Regions from separate parts of the Homo sapiens genome. Here regions 1, 2 and 4 are each linked to region 3. Evidence: promoter capture Hi-C in 16 types of primary human blood cells and fetal thymus (Javierre and others, 2016). All regions are on one chromosome and are shown on one strand. The core of a region is centred on a gene start or on the middle of the fragment in contact, and the rest is flanking DNA. Distances in the headings are between cores, read along the strand shown. Region 1 has its middle 30 kb from the start of PROKR1. Region 2 has its middle 43 kb from the start of ARHGAP25. Region 3 holds the start of GKN2 (gastrokine 2). Region 4 has its middle 2.4 kb from the start of PROKR1.

Evidence for each region. The method cuts DNA at HindIII sites, captures the fragments that hold promoters and counts their contacts. A CHiCAGO score of 5 or more calls a contact.
Region 1: a contact is called between a fragment that was not itself captured here and the fragment with the promoter of GKN2 in region 3, in 5 of 17 cell types (activated CD4 T cells, non-activated CD4 T cells, naive CD4 T cells and 2 more). The highest score is 7.4, in activated CD4 T cells.
Region 2: a contact is called between a fragment that was not itself captured here and the fragment with the promoter of GKN2 in region 3, in 7 of 17 cell types (activated CD4 T cells, non-activated CD4 T cells, total CD8 T cells and 4 more). The highest score is 11.0, in activated CD4 T cells.
Region 4: a contact is called between a fragment that was not itself captured here and the fragment with the promoter of GKN2 in region 3, in 5 of 17 cell types (total CD8 T cells, activated CD4 T cells, non-activated CD4 T cells and 2 more). The highest score is 6.3, in total CD8 T cells.

Annotation. Positions count from the first base shown.
Region 1 is chr2:68,671,936-68,674,635 of GRCh38, forward strand. No RefSeq gene overlaps it. Among named protein-coding and RNA genes, the nearest start is that of PROKR1, 30 kb to the left of the region's middle. The HindIII fragment of the contact is 2,230 bases long and covers 336-2,565 here.
Region 2 is chr2:68,690,283-68,692,982 of GRCh38, forward strand. No RefSeq gene overlaps it. Among named protein-coding and RNA genes, the nearest start is that of ARHGAP25, 43 kb to the right of the region's middle. The HindIII fragment of the contact is 3,397 bases long and covers 1-2,700 here.
Region 3 is chr2:68,951,534-68,954,233 of GRCh38, forward strand. It overlaps GKN2 (gastrokine 2), which reads right to left and starts at 1,360. Exons shown (of 6, transcript NM_182536.3): 1 at 1,317-1,360. The coding sequence starts at 1,328. The HindIII fragment of the contact is 766 bases long and covers 1,199-1,964 here.
Region 4 is chr2:68,639,806-68,642,505 of GRCh38, forward strand. No RefSeq gene overlaps it. Among named protein-coding and RNA genes, the nearest start is that of PROKR1, 2.4 kb to the right of the region's middle. The HindIII fragment of the contact is 652 bases long and covers 1,054-1,705 here.

The DNA of each region.
Region 1 (2,700 bases), core at 201-2,700, 280 kb before region 3:
GTAATGAACTAAGCAGTGAGGATGACCAGAGGTCACTTTCATCACCATCTTGGTTTTGGTAGGTTTTGGCTGGTTTCTTTACTGCATCCTGTTTTACCAGCAGGGTCTTTGTGACCTGTATCTTTGGTTGACCTCCTATTTCATCTTGTGACTAGGAATGCCTAACCTCTTGGGAATGCAGGCCAGTAGGTCTCAGCCTTATTTTACCCAGCCCCTATTCAAGATGGAGTGACTCTGGTTCAAATGCCTCTGACAAGATGAAGAAGCCAGCCCTTCAAATATCTGGGAGAACTTTCCGAGCAGTGAACTTGCAAGTCCAGAGTCCCAAGACGGGAAGCTTGGAGAGATGAGGAACAGTAAGACGCTAGTGTGGCTGGAGTAAGGAGGGCATGAGCGGAGCTGACATTGGAGAAGAGGCCACACAGCAGATCACCCAATCCCTCACAGGTCATGGCAGAGTGTAAATTTTTTTCCTAAATGTGAGTGGAGTTTGATGGAGAGTTTTAAACAAGGAATTGACTTGGCTCTAAATTAGGGTTTAAAATTAAGCACTTGGCCCATTGCCATGAAAATTGCTGGGGAAGGCAGGGGAGTGGGCAAAGTTTGGAAGCTGGGAAACCACCTATGACTGGCTTTAATTTCTGGAAGCCTTCCATTCCATCAAGTTTTTCACTTCAGTTTCTATATTTTTAATTGCTAAGACTCTATTAGTGCTCCAAATATTCAATTTTTATAGCATTCTTTTCTTGTATCTTAGATGCAATTTTTTCTCTTATCTTTCAGGGGATATTATTGTTACTTTGTGAACTACTCTGTTCTTTGAATTGTCTCTATTGCTAACAAGTGTGTTGTATTTTATTAATTATTATCATTTTCTAGGCTTAGTGGTTAAGGACATAGACACGAGACAGATTGCCAGCTTAGAATGACAGCTTCTCAGCTTACAGTGTGACCTTGGGCAAGTTACTTAATGTCTCCATGCCTCAGTTCCTTCACTTTTTCCATGGATGTAATAATAGTATTTACTTAAATGGTGATTGTGAAGATTAAGTGTGTAAATATACATAAAGTACTTAGAATAGTACCTAGCTCACAGTATACGCTTAATAAGGGTTAACCCTTATTTTTTCTATTTGCTTTGGTCTGTCTTTTATATTAGATGCTTTCCTCAAGTTGCCTGGTAATTCTTGACTCTTCCTTCATATTTAATAATGAGGTACTGATAGGCTGTCTTGGAGCTCTGGGCATAAAGAGAAGGCTTGTTCACTATGGACATGATACTAGGGTCTGTAGCTGGGCTAGATCTTTTGGGAACAAGATTTATCTTCAATTCTTTTCTCTTGGGCTGGTTATGATTCAGAGAAGGATCTCCTAGTGTCCTTTTTGGGCTCTCTACATTCAGGTTGTCAACTTTAAACTCAATCCCCTATTTTCTGACGGTACCCCTTCCATCAACTGTGTTTTATGGCCCAAATCTTCAACATCTCTGTTTAATCCTCTTCAAAAAATAGCCTTCTGGTTTTATCTGAATAGGTCAGAGCAGATGTCCAGGTCAGTAATGATGGGAAGAGATCTGGAGTCAAAATTTTTTCCAACAGACTTTCTTTTCATCTCCCTGCTTTCAACCTTGTCTTTACCCTCACTTCCAAAGATGCCAAGTCCTACTAATTCCTGGAACTTCGGAGGGTTCAATGGTTCAAACATGGCTGCTTCTCAGCTTTCCTCACTGATTTTGGGGATTTAGCCTTCTTGGACAACTAAGTTCATTTGCTTTCCAGCTTCTAAATTTCATTATCTTATTTCCATTCCTGCTTTCATTTTCTTTGTTAAAAAAAATCTCTTTGCAGTCATTTTCATGAGGTTTAGGAAACATTAGAGACTCACGGGAGTCTTTAATCTGTCATGTGTAACTGAAGGCTGGAGGTTCAGCCCCTAATTTTAAAGGTTTGAGGTTTGAGGTCCAGAAAGGCCGCACAGCTGCTTGGAAATAACATGGAGTGGAGATTGGGGTCTTGATTTGTTGCCAAAAACTTATCCTGCTACTTCACTCTGCCCCTTAGAAGCCTCAGGAGACCTGATTTGATAACGTTGAGCAGGTTTTCTTCTCAATCTCAATGGCCAAGGGCAAAGAGTCTACTCTGGTCCCCAGCCTCGGTAAAGCCCCAGAGAGCAGGTAAAGTTGTGATTCTTCATGGTCTTTGAGTCCTCACCTATGGAGCCATGGTCTGTACTTGGGGGAGCAACTAGACGTTTTAACTTTCCCTCACAGTGGGCTAATGCCCAAGGGAGGCTCTTCATTCTAATAAGTTCTCATAAAAGGGTAAAATTTTCCTGTATTTTTGAATAACACGATGGATATTTTCTCTCAGGAAAATGCAACTAGGTTATGGGACAACATGCAGAAGATAAAGCAATGTATTGAAATATAGGGAGTGAGTTGGGAGGAAATGGCCTCAATGAGAACCTAACTAGGGCCAGGATCAAATGAAGCCAGTTAAGAGGAGAAGAGGAATGTTAGAGCAGGATGGGCCAGAACAAATTATTTGGAAGGTTTTATCTGCTATAAGCTTTTATAATTTTTGGTTGTGAATATCTTAATTATGAAAGAGAAGACTTTGCAAGAATATGTGTCAGAAGGCTTAACTCTTCATTTTGTTGCAATTTAGAAGAATATATGACTACAAGACTTGGCATCTTATC
Region 2 (2,700 bases), core at 23-2,522, 260 kb before region 3:
CTCTCCTGTTTCTCTCTGCAAGACTCCTTTGGAAATCTTGCATTGCCTTCCCCTTTCTGAGTAATTCCGCGGGGCTTCATTTAGATTGTGCTCATTTGCATTAACTCTCATAACGAAGAGGTGTATTACCAACTGAAATGGAAAAAGGCCTGTGGTTACTTTGTGTCTTCTCTGCTGTCTCTGGTCTCTGGGACCAGAACTCATCCTCAGTACCGAGAGCCAAAGAGGAGCTGACCATGGATTAGATGAAATAAGGTACTGTGTACCTGACACCCAGGAAATAGTCAGTGTTTCTTACCTCCTAGTATTGTTGCAAAATGAAGCAGAATACAGTATATCTTTTGATTCAAAGGTGTCATTAGGCCTTATAACTATTAACCAATTAACAGGTTAATATTTTAGCTTGCACTTTTGCTTTAAAATCTGAATATTGCATGTTAATTTAAAATATGGTTTGTTAGGAGTGTGGTAGGAATATAACTTGTTTGAAATTGACATCAATGTCTAAAATGAAAAACCATGCATCCCAAAACATGGTGATTACCAGCGGAAGGTCAGGAAAACATGCTTCTCTTCTGCAGATGGAGGTACAATGAGGTGTTTGACAGGGGCTTATGTTCCCAACACACCTGGCCTGGACTCTGCATGGAGAAAAAGGTTTGTTCACTAGACTGAGATTTCGAAGGGTAGAGTATTTGTAGAGAGAAGCCAGGTCTCCAGTGTTGCTGGGTTTGGGGAAAGCCTGTAATGGATTCAGGTGTCCAGGTGAGAACAGCTTTCTGACAAATGTGCTGCTGAGGGTGATGTTCTCTCAGCACGTGGCCTGTGAGCTCTCAGTGATGCTCCAGCCAGCAGGAGTACACCAATAAGCCTGACTCTCTGCCAATAGCTGGGGCCAGAGGTCTCGTCCTCATTTTTCACTGGTACCTGGCAGGCAAAATTCCTATCCAGGAGGGAATGGTAGCTCTGGACAGTTGTATAAATATGCTATCAAAATTTGAGAGGCAGAAAGCAAATGACAGGAGGCCAGACCCTCCTTGGAGTCATCAGTCCACTCAAAGTCCCTAGACCCCTTGCTCAATAATTTCACTTTAGTCCACATAATTCCAAGAGGACTAACTAAGGTTTTCATTACAGTGGTCTCTTCTGGCAGTAAGGGTCTGCTCAAATAGCTCTAGTGGACAGAGGCCACAGACATCTGTTAGTGCCAACCTCAGAAAATCCCACTATAAGTTTCTGTTATATTTTTATTTTTTCAATGAAGCTCTTTACCTAGACACAAAGGTGATGGAGAAGTGTTTCCTCCCTATCAAAAAATACTTTGAATTTTTCAAAGAAATTTCATTTTCCTTGAACAATACAGACAAAATCAAATAATGCATAAGCACTCATAATCTCTGACCCTCCCTTTGCCCATAAAGAACATTCTGGAAATTCTAGCATTGTTAACTTGGTACTTCCCTTACACTATCCTATCCTTCCTACCTTCCTTCTCTCTCCTCTATTCTACTCTCCTTGGTGGTCATTTTTATTATTATGAGGTCTAGTTTATTGGACAAGAGGAGAAGTGTTAGCTAGAGAATTTATACTGGAAATGAAAGAAAAATTACAATAAATCTAGGAATGAGATGGAGTCCAGAAGAACCCAGTAGGATAGATTTCAGGGAGTATTAACTTAGGAGTTGAGAATGCAAAAGAGAATAGTCTCAAGTCACTTCCATCTACATGGAAGATATTGAGAAGGGATAAACTAGAAGAGAGGACAAGACATTTGACTATGGGTTGAGTAGGTGAATCCTTAAGAAATGGAATATGGCCGGGCATGGTGGCTCATGCCTGTAATCCTAGCACTTTGGGAGGCTGAGATGGGTGGATCATGAGGTCAAGAGATCGAGACCATCCTGGCTAACATGGTGAAACCCCGTCTCTACTAAAAATACAAAAGATTAGCTGGGTATGGTGGTGGGTGCCTGTAGTCCCAGCTACTCGGGAGGCTGAGGAAGAAGAATGGTGTGAACCTGGGAGGCGGAGCTTGCAGTGAGCTGAGATTGCACCACTGCACTCCAGCCTGGGCAACAGTGCAAGACTCCGTCTCAAAAAAAAAAAAAAAAGAGAGATGGAATGTAGTTGAATTATCTTAAATTGTTTTTAATGACTATTAAGTTGTCTGTTTTTCTTTAAGTCAGGAGGCATTATTTAGAGTTTATGCCACAGAGCAGAGGCAATTATAATATTCATGTTCTTCAAAAATAAAAACAGTGAAGCTATCTTTGCACCTATGCCAAAATCCTGCACTAAGAGAGAAGGTGCACTTCTTCCAATAAACAGATGTGTGACCAGTGCCAGTGTGGGCTGACTTCATCTCATCCTTCCAAATCTCTCATCTTAGGGAGCTGGGTGAATTGACTATTGTAGCTGCTCCTTCCTCCTGCAGTAACACTTCCCTTTTTGCTGCTGACAGTGCTTCAGAGGTACAGTCCTTTTCCAAGAACCACCGCCATGCCATTGCCACTGGTACCTCTCCTCACTCAACTCCTCTCCTGGTGGTGCTTTGAAGATGGCTGGAACTCTAGTCTTTACTCAGCTACTAAAGTTGGCTGTCTTCCAGCAGCCTTCCCAACTCCTGCTGAAAGAAGGAAAAAGGTAGAAAGGAACATGTGAGATGGTAGAGAGACGTGCACTGTTCAATGTAACTCCACA
Region 3 (2,700 bases), core at 110-2,609:
ATTTGAAAACTGCTGATGAAAGGAGTCTTGGGGAAGGGGGATATTTTTAAGAACTGTCAGTGGGACTTTCCTACTTCCCTTTCCATCCCACCCTTAATATTTCTCTTCTGGGGACTGGGAGTAGAGCATCTAACAAAGACCTGTGTGCTGATATTCAGCCTTCCATAGGGATACATCTTCTCTTACCACAGACCAGCTCCAGCAACATATGATACTCCCGTATATTCTAGTTAATGAGTCTAAAATAGTGGTTTGAACAAGTAGTCGAAGGACTAAACCACTTTAATGGTATGATTAGAGAGAGCTTGGGGAGTGTCCTCTGCCCCAAAATGATCTCCCTTCCAACACTGTGGTTAATACACCATGGTTATATAATACTTTTGTGCTTCAGGGTTAGGTCTCAATTTGGAAAATCAAGACAGCCCTGAGAGAGGGAGCTCTTTAAGCTGATAGTCTTTAACACTTTAGAAAGAGGTACTTAACATTTTGCTTTCTCCCTTAGCAGCTGAATGAGAATAAAGGACAGAGACTAGGGGAGCGAATTCCATTCTAGGTCAGAACATAGCCCACTGTCCATGGGGCACTGCAATGTGGAACTACGGAGGCTGGGATCAGATGGAGGGGTGGAGTGGCCATAGAAGGAACGTTTTGTCCTAAGGGAGAATTTAGTCATAATGAGAGGACATTGAAGACACTCTGGCTGCTTAAATTTGCCATGATTGCGCCTGCAAGTGGGGATTCAGATGGATAAATTACATTCTAAATCCCACATTTACGGGCTTGGGAAAATCACATTCCTCTGCCTCTCAGTCTCCTTATCTGTAAAACGGGGAGAATACTACTCAACTCATAGGGTTGTTGCAATGAATAGATGAAATTATTCATGTGATATGCTTAGTCTAAGGCTTAGTATGCATTTGAGAAATGAGAGGTACTATTATTACTATTACTGATATTATTTTTAAACTACAGCTTCTCTCTTAGATAGCAAATGTAGTTGTTTTAAATAGCCCAAATTCCCTATGAAGCTCATAATAAAGGATTATTATTAAACATCCTCCAAATCAAAATTATCTAGAGATTTCTTTGTATTTTTGAATTTTCTTTTAAGTAAACATCTCAAAACAGGAAAAGGACAAAAAAAGTCAGACTTATTCAACACTATTTCTGCCAAAGATGTCATTAATTCAATCACAGAAGCTTAGAAGCATGCACAGTATCTGTCTAAGACTCCCAAAATCCATGGCATATTAGATATGAGCATTGTCTGCAAGCAGTCACCACAAGAGTATCAAGAAGCAGAAACAAATACTCACAAGTATTTTCATTTTGCCTGGGAGAGGAAGGTGCTGGAGTAAGTAAAGCTGCCCTGTGCAGCTTCTATCCTTTATATGGGCTTGAAGATGTGGATATCTCTTTTTCAAATGATCACTTTGGAAAAGACCATGTCTATATCTCTGACACACCCTAGCAAACTCCTTTATCAGAATTGAGATCCAACCACATACCTGATATCAATGAAGTTCATTAGTCAGTAATGAAAATTCACCACTTGGTCACTCTGTAAATATTCCCTGCTATTTGTACTATGCTGCACTTGACATTTTAATTTCCACCCTTTAAAAATATTGCATGATGCTTGTTCTATGCATACATTTTATAGCTCTACAAGGACAAACTTCTAACATCTCCTCCTAAAGGAAGAGTGCTTCCTTAAGGCCTGAGTTGGGCCCCAACTCAATGTCTTTTCACCACTGTTCTGCTGGCTGAATTCTTCCACAGAGGGAACGGATATGAGACGGGGTGCCAAGACAGTGGCTGGGGAGGCCTGCTTGGAGAACAAACAGCCTAGGACTTTCTTCGTTCTTCCCTTTAGATTTGGTGTCAATTTCCAGAAATTAATGAGGAACAAGACTCAGAAAGCATTCTCCCCAATTACCAAGTTTAACCAAATTTTTACATTAAGCTTCGCCCAAAACTGCACAAAACTGTAAGTTAGAGACCTCTAGTTATCTTGCAGAGTATTAAGAAATTCTTAGATTGAAAAAAAAAAAAAAGAGAGAGAAAGAGAATAAAGTTTAATTTGTGTAATTTTTTTAACATGACAATTAGAAATGGCTAGTTAGTGTCAGGGTATAATCATGAACTCAGGAAGGGAAATTTAAAAACAAAACAAACAACAACAACAACAAAAACAATAAACTGCGGCTGGGCGCAGTGGCTCATGCCTGTAACCCCGGCAATTTGGGAGGCCAAGGCGGGCAGATCACCTGAGGTCAGAAGTTTGAGACCAGCCTGGACAACATGGTGAAACCCCGTCTCTACTATGGTGAAACCCCGTCTCTACTAAAAGTACAAAAAAATTAGCCAGGCGTGATGGTGCTCGCCTGTAGTCCCAGCTACTCAGGAGGCTGAGGCAGGAGAATTGCTTGAACCCGGGAGGCAGAGGTTGCAGTGAGCCAAGATCATGCCACTGCACTCCAGCCTGGGTGATAGAGCAAGATTCCATCTCAAAACAAAACAAAACAAAAAACCCCAGTAAATTGCAAAATTGTAAAATATTGAGAATCACCACAGTAAACAAAGAGATAACATAAATAATGGCCTTGTTCTATAGCTGAAACAACTTTCTAACTTTAGCAGCTTTAAACAAAAATGGGGTTCTCAAAAAGTAGACATCTGGGCAAGTTAAGGGTTACC
Region 4 (2,700 bases), core at 130-2,629, 310 kb before region 3:
AATGATGCATTTCTCAGAACATATCCTCATTGCTAAGTGATGCATGGCTGCATATGTAAAATACACATAACATAAAATTCACCATGTTAACTGTTTAAGTTACAATTCAGTGACATTAATGCATTGACAATGTTGTGCAACCATCACCACTATCCATTGCCAGAACTTTTTCATCATCCCAAACGGAAACTCTGAACCCATCAGATAATAATCTCCTATTCCCCCTCCCCCTCATCCCTTGGTAACAATCATTCTACCTTCTGACTTTATGAATTTGCCTATTTTAGGTATCTTATATATGTGGAATCATTCAATATTTGTTTTTTATGATAGGCTTATTTAATTTAGCATCATGTTTTCAAGATTCACCCATGTTGTAGCATGTGTCAGTACACCATTCCTTTTTTCCCCATTTTCTCATTGTGGTAAAGTGAAAAAAAATATTTACCATTGTAACAGTTTTTACATATACAGTTCAGTGGTATTAAGTACATTCAGATTGTTGTGCAACCATTACCACTCTCCATCTTCATAATTATTTTCATTTTGCAAAACTGAAACTTTGTACCAATTAAACAATAGCTCCCCATTCCTTCTTCCCCAAGACCTAGGCAACCATCATCCTACTTTTTGTCTCTATGAATTTGACTACTCTAGCTACCTCATGTAAGTGGAATCATATAGTATTTGTCTTTTGTGACTGGCTTATTTCACTTAGCACAATGTCTTCAAGGTATATCCGTGTTGTAGCATGTGTCAGAATTTCATTCCATTTGAAGGCTGAATAATATTGCATTCTGTGTATATACGCACACACATACACATGAAGGGGCTTCAAAAATTTGGGGAGCATGCATATTATGAAAAAAGTAAGCATGGATTTCAATTTTTGTTTGCACCCAAATAAACTCGTACTCATTTGTTACAACATGTCTGAACAGGATCTAGTTTGAGTCACTAAGAAGGATAAGATATCAGTTTGAAAAGAGCCCCTCTCAGAGGAACATGAATTCTGAAAAATTGAAGCAACGGCAAACATGAAATTTATGGTGAAGCTTGGGTGGAAGAATGGTGAAATCACTGATACTTTACGAAGAGCTTTTTGTGGGCAATGACCCAAAGATATCAGCGGTTTACAAGTGGATACTCATTTCAGGAAGGGACGAGAGGATGTTGAAGATGAAGTCTGCAGCAGCAGACCATCCACATAATTTGTGAGAAAAAAATTAACCTTATTCATGCCCTAATTGAAGAGGACTGATGATTAACAGCATAAACATAACCAACACCACAGACACCTCAGTTGGTTGAACTTACTCATTTCTGACTGGCAGATTAAAGTTGAGCACACTTTCCACTTGATGGGTGCCAAAATTGTTGTGACCAGATCAGCTGTAGACAAGAATAGAGCTTTCAATGGAAATACGAAACAAGCGGGATCAAGATCATGAAAGATTTCTTTGAAGAACTGTAATAACAGAAAAAACAGGCTTTACAAGTGTGATCCAGAAGACAAAGCACAATCAAAGCAATGGCTACCAAGAGGTGGAAGTGGTTCAGACAAAGCAAAAGCAAACTAATCAAGAGCAAAGGTCATAGCAATAGTTTTTGGGGGATGCTCACAGTATTTTGCATGTGATTTTCTGTAGAGGGCCAAAGAATGAAATATCTGCTTATTATGAGGGTATTTTGAGAAATTAGCCAAAGCTTTAGCAGAAAAAATGCCTGAAAAAGCTCCACCAAAGAGTCCTTCTCCACCATGACAATACTACTGCTCATTCCTCTAATTGAACAAGGGCAATTATTAGCCATCCTTCTTACCATCCTGATTTGGCTCTTTCTGACTTCATTTCCTAATCTTAAAAAGTCTTTAAGGAGCAGCTATTTTTCTTACGTTAATAATGTAAAAAAAAAGGGCTTCATTGACATGGTTAAGTTCCCAGGACCCATGCCAGGCCTGGTGGCTCATGCTTGTAATCCCAGCATTTTGGGAGGCTGAGGTGAGAGGATTGCTTGAGGCCAGGAGTTTGAGACCAGCCTGAGCAACCTAGCCAGACCCTGTTTTAACAAAAAAATAAAAATAAATAAATAAAATAGAAAAATTCCCAGGATCCTTAGTCCTTTAGAGATGGACTAAATGTCTGCCATCATTACAAAAGCATCTTGAACGTGATGGAGCTTATGCTGAGAGCTAAAGTTTATGTATTTTTATCTTTTAATTCCATTTTCCCACAAACTTTTGGAAGTTCCCATGTGAGTGTATGTGTGTATGTGGAGCATTTTGTTTGTCCCTTCATCATTGATGGACATTTGGATTGTTTCCATGTTTTCGCTATGGTGAATAATGCTGCTATGAACATGGATGTACAAACATGCCTTTGAGACCCTGTGTATTAGTTCACTTGCACACTGCTGATAAAGACATACCGGAAACTGGGAACAAAAGGAGGTTTAATTGGACTTACAGTTCCACATGACTGGGGAGGCCTCAGAATCAAGGCAGGAGGTGAAAGGCATTCCTTACGTGGTAGCATCAAGAGGAAACTGAGGGAGAAGCAAAAGTGGAAACCCCTGATAAACCCACAGGATCTCGTCAGGCTTATTCACTATCACGAGAATAGCATGGGAAAAACAGGCTCCCATGATTCAATTACCTTCCCCTGGGTCCCTCCCACAATACGTGGGAATTCTGGGAGATAC